2 separate regions of the Homo sapiens genome follow, and region 1 is linked to region 2. Evidence: promoter capture Hi-C in 16 types of primary human blood cells and fetal thymus (Javierre and others, 2016). All regions are on one chromosome and are shown on one strand. The core of a region is centred on a gene start or on the middle of the fragment in contact, and the rest is flanking DNA. Distances in the headings are between cores, read along the strand shown.

Region 1 (4,226 bases), core at 976-3,475, 850 kb before region 2:
CACACCTTCAGAGTCTCCATTTACTATCATTTCACATTGTACGTTCATGTGTACACATTATTTAGCTCCCACTTACAAGTGAGAACATGTGGCATTTGTCTTTCTATGTCTGACTTGTTTAACTTAGGACAATGGCCTCCAGTTTCATCTATGTTGCTGCAAAAGATATGACTTCATTTTTTACGGCTAAATAGCATTCCATTGTGTATATCTAACACATTTTCTTTATCTAATCACCTGTTGATGCACAGTTAGGTTGATTCCCTATTGTCATTATTGCGAATAGTACTTAAATTAAAAGATGATTGCAGGTTTGTTTGTTTTTTTTTTTTTTGAGACGGAGTCTCTCTCTGTCACCCAGGCTGGAGTGCAGTGGCACCATCTTGGCTCACTGCAAGCTCCGCCTCCCGGGTTCATGCCATTCTCCTGCCTCAGCCTCCCCAGCAGCTGGGACTACAGGCAGGTATCTTTTTGATATAATGGCTTTTTTCCTTTGGGCACAACAGAGTGAAGAGACAGTCTGCAGAATGGAAGAAAATATTTGCAAGCCATGGATCTGACAGGAAACGAATATCCGGAATTTATAAGGAACACAAACAACCCAACAACTAATCAAACAATCTCACTAATAAGTAGGCAAAAGATATGAATATACATTTTTCAAAAGTAGACATATGAATGACCAAAAGTATATGAAAAGATGCTCATGGCTATTAATCATCAGAGAAATTCAAATTAAACCACAAGATATCATTTTACACCAATCAGAATGGCTATTATTAATAAGACAAAAATTAACAAATGTTGGCAAGGATTCAGAGAAAAGGAACACTTATACACTGTTGATGGGAATGTAAATTAGAACAGCCTCTATGAAAAACACTAGAACTAAAAATAAAACTACAATTTGATCCAGCAATTGATATATAATTTTTAATGGCAAAACTTCAAAACACATGAAATGATAATAAAAGAACCAAAAGGAAAAAAATACAAATCTAGAGATTTTAACCTCTATTTCAGCAATTGATACACCAAAAAAAATCACCAATATAGAAGACATGAACAATATTGGCATTTCTTGAACATTATACCCAATCACTGTAGCATAAACAGTTTTTACAAGTGCGTGTGGAATGTTGACCAAGATGGAAAAAATCCTTGTTCATAAAACAATCCCCCCAAAATTCAAAAGCTTGAAATCTTACAGAGTGTGTTTTCTGGTCCCAACAGAATTAAACAGATATCAAATCAAAATACGATATTTAGAAAAGGTACAAATATTTGGAAATTACACCAGTTCCAAAAGCCAATGAATTAAAGAAGAAACTACAAGGAAAATATAAAATATTTAGGACTGAATGATATTATTAAACAACAGGCTACAATCTGTGGGAACCAGTTAAAGCAGTGCCTAGAAACAAATGTGTAGCTGTAATACTTACATTCAAAAGAGAGAAAAGTATAAAGCCATAACTTTAGATCTGTAAGAAACCAGTAAAAGTCAGGTACATAGATTTTTACCCTACATCTGGTCCTACCCCCAGAATAGGGTATGTGAGATAGGATTAGTACCAACATAAGGGTAACCATAGGACTCTATTGAACTGAAAGAAATATTTCTAAATTTGCCCTGAGGCAGGATAGCCAGATGCATTTATTTTTAAATTAGAAACAAATGAGAGACCAAAAAATGTTTCTGCACATCAAAACCAAAGGAAGGAGTCAAGGACAAATGTTGGAGGAGTGGTCAGGGAATACAGATCTGGGAGAATAGAAATTAGGTCAGCATGAGGTAAGGAGCAGGTGCATGGGGAGGGGCCGGGGCTGAGCACTTGAATCTTAAGCGGGTGCTGATGCACCTTTAGACACTGGGCCCTCTGTTGTAAGTGACACCTTAACCCTGCTTACCTCTCCTCTCCCAAAAGAAACATATTGGCTCACAAAATGTACAAGTGTTGGGGCTCTAGACTCTATGGGATCCATGCAACTAAGCAATATTATCAGGATTTAGGCTCCCTCTGTATCTCCACTCTTATCATCATCATATTACCACCCCTATAGGCCAGAACCTCTTCATGTAATGGCCTCCAGATGTTCTAGGCAAACATCATTTTAAATCTGTCAAAGGGAGAGATTCTTATCAATAGTACTGGCACAAATCTAGGATTTGAGCCGCATTCATCTTGATTTGGTTACATGATGAGTCCTGAAGTAGTTACTGGGTTCATGTCTGGTTACCAGCCCACCCCTAGAGCAAGAGGTAAAATCAGCACTACTTGAGATATCTTAAACTGAGAATTTAGAAGGGGTTGTTCCTCAGAAACTATTGGAATGCCCTTACTAGGATAGGAACTGAATTCTGGTGAGACAAAATCCACAGATGTCCCTTAGGCCTCTTTTTATGTCAGTCCTACGGCATATTGTGAGATGGATGTATTGGCGGAAGAAATCATGCTACTTTGACAGCGTGTGTGTTTTCCTTTGGAATGCTCCTCTGTCTAAAGGGCACCTTCCATATCTCTCTTCTCCTATTAGTGCCAGATCAAAGTTGTTGTTGTTGTTGTTTTTCCCAAAGCGATTGATATGGGTATTTATTGTTGTCAAGAAGGTAAATTAAAAAGGTGTCAATGTCATCTTATGAACTATGTATGAAAGATACCTCTGAGGATTCTGGGAAAATAGCAGAGGAGTCAGCACCAGGAATCTCTCTCCCAACCTGGACTATAATTACACTGGCAGAATCTGCCTGATATAACAATTTTAGGACTCTGGAGTCTATTTGAAGGCTTGCAACTTCCAGGGGAAGGCTTCCAGGTACGTTTCAGTCAATTTTAGCCAGTAGAGTGGTAGCGGCTGTACATTCCCCATCCTTCATCCTGGGGGCAGGCACCATACAGATTTTGTCTTTCTGCTCTACCCTGAGTGATACACCTTCCACCTCCCACACATTCACTTTCAATTAGAAGAACCTTGACTTGCTTGCATAAAGAGTATTGCCCTCTTAATCTAAAAAAAAAAACAAAAAACAAAACAAAACAAACAAACAAACAAACAAAAGGAAGCCTATCTCCTAGCCCAAGGGGTAAATCACTGTTGGTCTCAATCAGTGGTTCTCAAACAGTGGTCCTCAGACTAGCACCATTAACATCAGCAGGAAACATATTATAAATGAAAATTATCTGGTCCCACACAACATACTAAATTAGAAATTCTGGGGGTAGAACCCAGTAGTCTGTATTTAAACAAGCTTGCCAGAATCATCTGAGAACTCTACTTTGAGAACCACATATCTATAATAATAATGGAATTTTCATCCTTTTTCCCAGTGATCTGTCTAGATAAGGGCATGTGACCAAGTTCTTGCTAATGAGAAGTAAGGAGAAGTCTGCTGGAGATGGAGTGGCAGTGGGGTTGACTTTCATGGTTAAATGACAGAATTCCTACTATGTTCATTCTGTGTAGTCAGCTGGCTGGAGAACGTGAGGACTAGAGAGATACAGCCTTCTTTAGTTTATGGGAAAAATTCCAATTAAATCACAGAAATACCAAACTAGGCCTTTGATGTCATTGAGCTGCTGAACCAACCCTGGAGCTACATATTGCCAGAATTCATGTCATGAGAGAGAATTAAAGACTTTATTATTAAGTCACAATTACTTGAGATTTCTATTACTTCCAGCCAAAATAAATTCAACCAATGGAATATTTTTATCTCTATTTTACAGCTAAAGGAAACAAGTCTGAAAGATATTAAATAATTTCCATAAGGCAACATATCTAGTTACATGGTATTCTAAGTTTTAGGCTTGCTTTTCTCTGAATACAAAACTTTATGAGGCTACTCTACCTCTCAGTAGATCACACTGTCACTCCCACCAAACTACAAGCCTGGTGGTGGCCAGGGAGCAAAGGGACTACGTTTCACTTCTTCCCTTATGCCATTATATCTAATCCTTAGTTGCTTTATGAACTTAAGAATTCTATTCTGAATGATGCTTTATTTTCCGGCTTAAAAGGAGGAATACAATTTGATTTTTAATTTATTCTTCATGATGTTAAACCTATCCCTTTAAAGACAGGTCCACATTTTTTACTTTGAGTATTCCAATAGTCTGCATTATTCATATTAGAGGTATTTATGCAGACATGATCAATAAGATAATTCACCTCCAAATGAAACAAGGAGGCTTCAGCCCTGAATGAGAACTGAAGAATTTAAGTAA
Region 2 (4,203 bases), core at 1,464-3,963:
TGACAAAGAAACTTTCAACGCAGCTGTTTGGATGCTGATAATCACAAGCCAGCCTTTGTTACCTAAGAAGAGGGTGGATGGATGATGTGGAAATGATTTCTGCACAGAATCAGAGGGCTGCCTCCAGAAAGCTACCGCTTATACCCTCTCAAGCTACAAGATACTTTAAGTGTACAAATTGAGAGGTAATTCCCCCGTCTCTCTGATTCTTCCGATAATGTGTGTAGAAGAAATATGCGGCCTCTAGTGTTCAAATAGTGCCAAGTGACATTGAGAACCCAAGCTCCCTAGGCAACAGCCACAACCAGTGGGTCAGATCCTTCCATGCTTCCCTGCCTTTGCTGAATCTGCTCCCTCTGCCAAGAATGCCTTCCCACTTTGTCCACCTGGAAAACTCCCTAGAAAGCCTTGAAGGTACATCTCTCAAATCCCTGACCACCACTCCTCCCTAGAATTAATTCAAACTGTCTCTCCTCCACATTTCCTTAATACAAACTTATACTCCTACCTCTCCACCACCCCCCCCATCAATCTGTAAAATTAAAATGCCTGCCAGTTTCTATCTAGATTCCCAGCTGAGCTTTAAGTTCCTAGAAGTCAAGGACTGTCATTTCCTCTTTGCATAAGAAATCCTGGCACCCAGCAAGACATCGTTTGTTGAATGAGTAAAGACATGAATGAATCTTCCCCTACAACGAAATTTTTACAAGATTTAAAGGGGATTGGAAGTGGAAAGAGGGAAAATACCTGTTCTTAAAGACCCCTTCCACAAGCAATGAACCCTGAAACACGTTCCATTCCGTGATAAGGGTACTTTGGCGACTTTTCAAAGGAGTAATGAGAACAAAGGATTTAGGCATATTCCGTAGTGATGTGCACTTAGGGATGTGAACTCACTAACGGGTTGCCCCCTCCCTACCTAGCTTCTTCCTGTCTGCGGTTCCTCTGTAAGATGTCCACGAGCACCAGACTCTCGCGCTCAGAGCCAGTAGCCCACGCTCTGCACTAGTCTTGCCTGTCCTGATCTTCCTGGGGTGCGCGCACTCCTTCAGCGTGTCCTGGTTTTAAAAGACTAACCCATCCGGATGGGCCTGAACTCAAGAAGCAACTATTCTAAGCTAGACTGAGCCTTGGCGTCTCCGCAGCCTGGGAAGCTCGGATAGAGGTAAGGAACGGAATGGGAGGTTTCTTTTGTCCCTTGAGAAATCCATATTCAACATTCTTAACCAGACGAAAGCCGCTGCCTGCTCAGTCCTGGGGAAGTGGGAAGGGCCCTCTGAAAGCTCCTAGACGCTAGATCTTCCAGCGGGCTAACTGCCAAAGAGGGGCGCCTGGGCGCAAGCGGAGGGAACTTTTGAGCCAACCAAGTGCAGACGCCCCTTCTTAGCCCTCTCCAGATGAACTTGCTCTTTGGCCTAGAGAGAAGGCCACGCCTCTAAAGAAGGAAATAAGGATGGTAAAGGGGGGAGAATAAAGGGAAAGGGAATGACCACACAGATTCTGGGGTGCAGCGCGTACGGAGGATGGCTGGGTAGGATTGCAAACCTCCGACACTCCCCCCAGTTGACAGGCCCTATTTTTGCCAATTTCCTACATCTCACCCCACCTCACCTCACCCCAGTCTCCCCGCATCTACTACTAGCTCTTTGAAGAAGGCGGCTGCAAGCCAGTCTCCGAACCCCAGGGGACTTTTGGGCAAGGGAGCCGGTGGAAGCAGAAGGAAGAAGATGCGCTGAGAGTCCTCACAACTGCGTCTCCGGAGGCAGAACGAAGTGGGGACTTCAGACAATCAAGCGTCATCCTTGCTCCCCCCTCCCCACACGGAACCCTGCGATTATGGCAAGAGAAAACTGGTTTGAGCTTGAGAAAATTTCCCCAGATTGTCTCCACTGCTCTATTTCCCTCAGATAATTGTTCGCCCAGCCCTTGGGAGCAAAGACAGGCGGAGGAGAATACTCCTGGAGTTCTCCTGGGTAGTCAGGAAGGCACAGGAGGAGATCGCGGGATCCCAGGGTTCTCCCGCAGCTCTCTGCCCTCGCCGCACCGCGCCCTCCCGGGCCCCGGCCGCGCCCGCCAGCCGGAAGCGCTCCCTCTGCGGGTGCGACTCCCGCAGCTACCCCTTCCCAGCCTGGCGGGGGTCGGCGAGAGTGGTTTCCACAGCACCTTACAAGTTCGGGAACTCGGGGCACGCGGGCCCGCCCTGCTGCGGGTTTCGACTCCCTGGGACGGAAAGCCGGTTACTAGCAGCAAGAGGGTGCGCCTACTCGGCCGCGCCCCTCACTCCTGCGCCCCTGAGGCCGGGTCCCCTGAGAAGGGGCACTCAACGGGGACATCTTCAAGCCCGTGAGTCCCTATTTTCACCCTGTCACTCCGAGCAGGGCAAAGAGATCCCAGGAACCGGTCCACGCTACCGCCGTTCCCCAGACCAGCGCAAAGCTCGGCTCCAGGTCTCCCCACGCCGCCGTGGTCTGTGGGCACCCCCATTTCCCGGATCCCTCTAACCGCCACAGTCATGCTTACCTGTCCTGGCAGTGCACACACAGAACCACACAACTAAAATCAAATCCATCGGCATCGCTCTCGAGGGTCCCCGCCTAGCAGGGGGCACCGAAGCTAGGTGGAAGCAAATGAGCCTGGATCCTGAGGCGCGCCTGGCTTGGAGCCGCCAAACTTGCTAGCGGGCGGCGGGGGAGGTGGCTCGGCAGCGCCGGGTGCTGCGCTCGCATATGCGCCCGGGAAGGCAGCCCCGGCCGCCCCGCCCCCAGCCCGCCCCCCACCGCTGGCGCGGCGGCGGCGGCGTGGGGCTCGGGGCCCGGCCCCCCGCTGCGGCTGCGTTCGTCTGGGAGCCCGGGCAGGAGCGCGGGGTTTGGCTACTGTGGCTTGTTGCGCTCCCCACTGGGGGCCGATTCCGTTCGCCTCCTTCGCCCGCAGAACTGCGAGGATCTGGACTGCAGGCGCCGCAGCCGCTATCACCCGGAGCACCGAAGTCGGAGTCCCAGGACCTGCGGCCGAAACGAGAGAGCGGGAGGCGCACGGCGCCCCCACGGCTTCACGCGCTCCAGCCCCTCCGAGCCGCAGTCGCCAATGTTGCCCTCTTTACTTCCGCACCGCGGTGGGGGCTGCCGAAGTTGCCACAGTTCATCCCCGCCGAGTCGAAAAGCCGCCGAGCCCTCGCGGGTGGGTATTTTTCCTCGGGGGAACCCAGACCGAGGCGGCGCCACCGAGCGCGCACGGACCCCCTCGGAAAACAATTACTCGGGATTCGCTCTGTCAACTGGGTGGGGAGGGACCTGAGGGGGATGATGGCTGAGTCCCTGCTCACCGCCTGTACCTTCTGTCTCCTCTCTCCTGTTGAACCCCTATGACTGAGTACTCTCTTTGTGGGTGCAGGAAGAGGGCGCTGAGGTGGGGGTGCAGAAAAGGGGTCCTCGAGGCGGAGCGAGCTGTGGTTGGGGTTTGGGAAGTCTATTTGCAAACCTTCTCATTCTGCAGGGCAGATGCTGCCACATAGGGGTAATTCCTAACCATCTTTTTTTCTTTCTTGCGTGATTTTCTTAATGGTATTATCAAAAGCCCACTCTTCTTTCATAGTCACATTTTGGCCCCATGTGCAATTCCTCCGGGACCTCCACCTTCTTTTCCCTCTCCCACCACAACATTCTCTGGAGAGAAAAGCTGGGCTGGGCTTTGTTTTCTACTTGCCGGCAAGAAGAGAATGGGTCCTCTCCCCTCTATGCGACCCTTTCAGGACCTGACCTTCCCTATGAAGATCCCCCAAATTTAAGACTTCTGTCCCACTTCCTATTTGTCCTACTAACACCTAGGAACGTTATTTATAACTGGATATGTAGAGTCATGAAATCTGAAATGACAGCCTCTGATTTATACCAAATGAACTCCACTTAGCTTGCTCAGTCTTCCCACTCTCTCTGAAGCCCCCGCTCCCCCTCACCAGCAGTACTCCTTTGATATTCACAACAGGGATCCCAGAGGAGTCCAAGGAAACCTCAGAACAGCCGTCCCTCGTTTCCTGGAAACCAATTCCAACGTTTCAGAATCCTCTTCACTAATAAGAACGTGCCCTTCTCACTTGCACCCACTTTCACTTCCTATATCCTTAACCCCTACACAACTTTGACCCCAGGAGCCCCAGTGAAGTTCACCAAATCAGCGCAGCTTATTAAGAGAGAAGGCTTTACTAGC

What was found. Contacts are between HindIII fragments. The CHiCAGO score rates a contact against its expected background, and 5 or more counts as called.
Region 1: a contact is called between a fragment that was not itself captured here and the fragment with the promoter of NELL1 in region 2, in 1 of 17 cell types (M2 macrophages). The highest score is 6.1, in M2 macrophages.

The regions. Positions count from the first base shown.
Region 1 is chr11:21,518,342-21,522,567 of GRCh38, reverse strand. The region is part of intron 15 of NELL1 (neural EGFL like 1); the gene reads right to left. Among named protein-coding and RNA genes, the nearest start is that of NELL1-AS1, 260 kb to the right of the region's middle. The HindIII fragment of the contact is 2,055 bases long and covers 1,198-3,252 here.
Region 2 is chr11:20,668,096-20,672,298 of GRCh38, reverse strand. It overlaps NELL1 (neural EGFL like 1), which reads right to left and starts at 2,713. Exons shown (of 20, transcript NM_006157.5): 1 at 2,521-2,713. The coding sequence starts at 2,575. The HindIII fragment of the contact is 10,998 bases long and covers 1-4,203 here.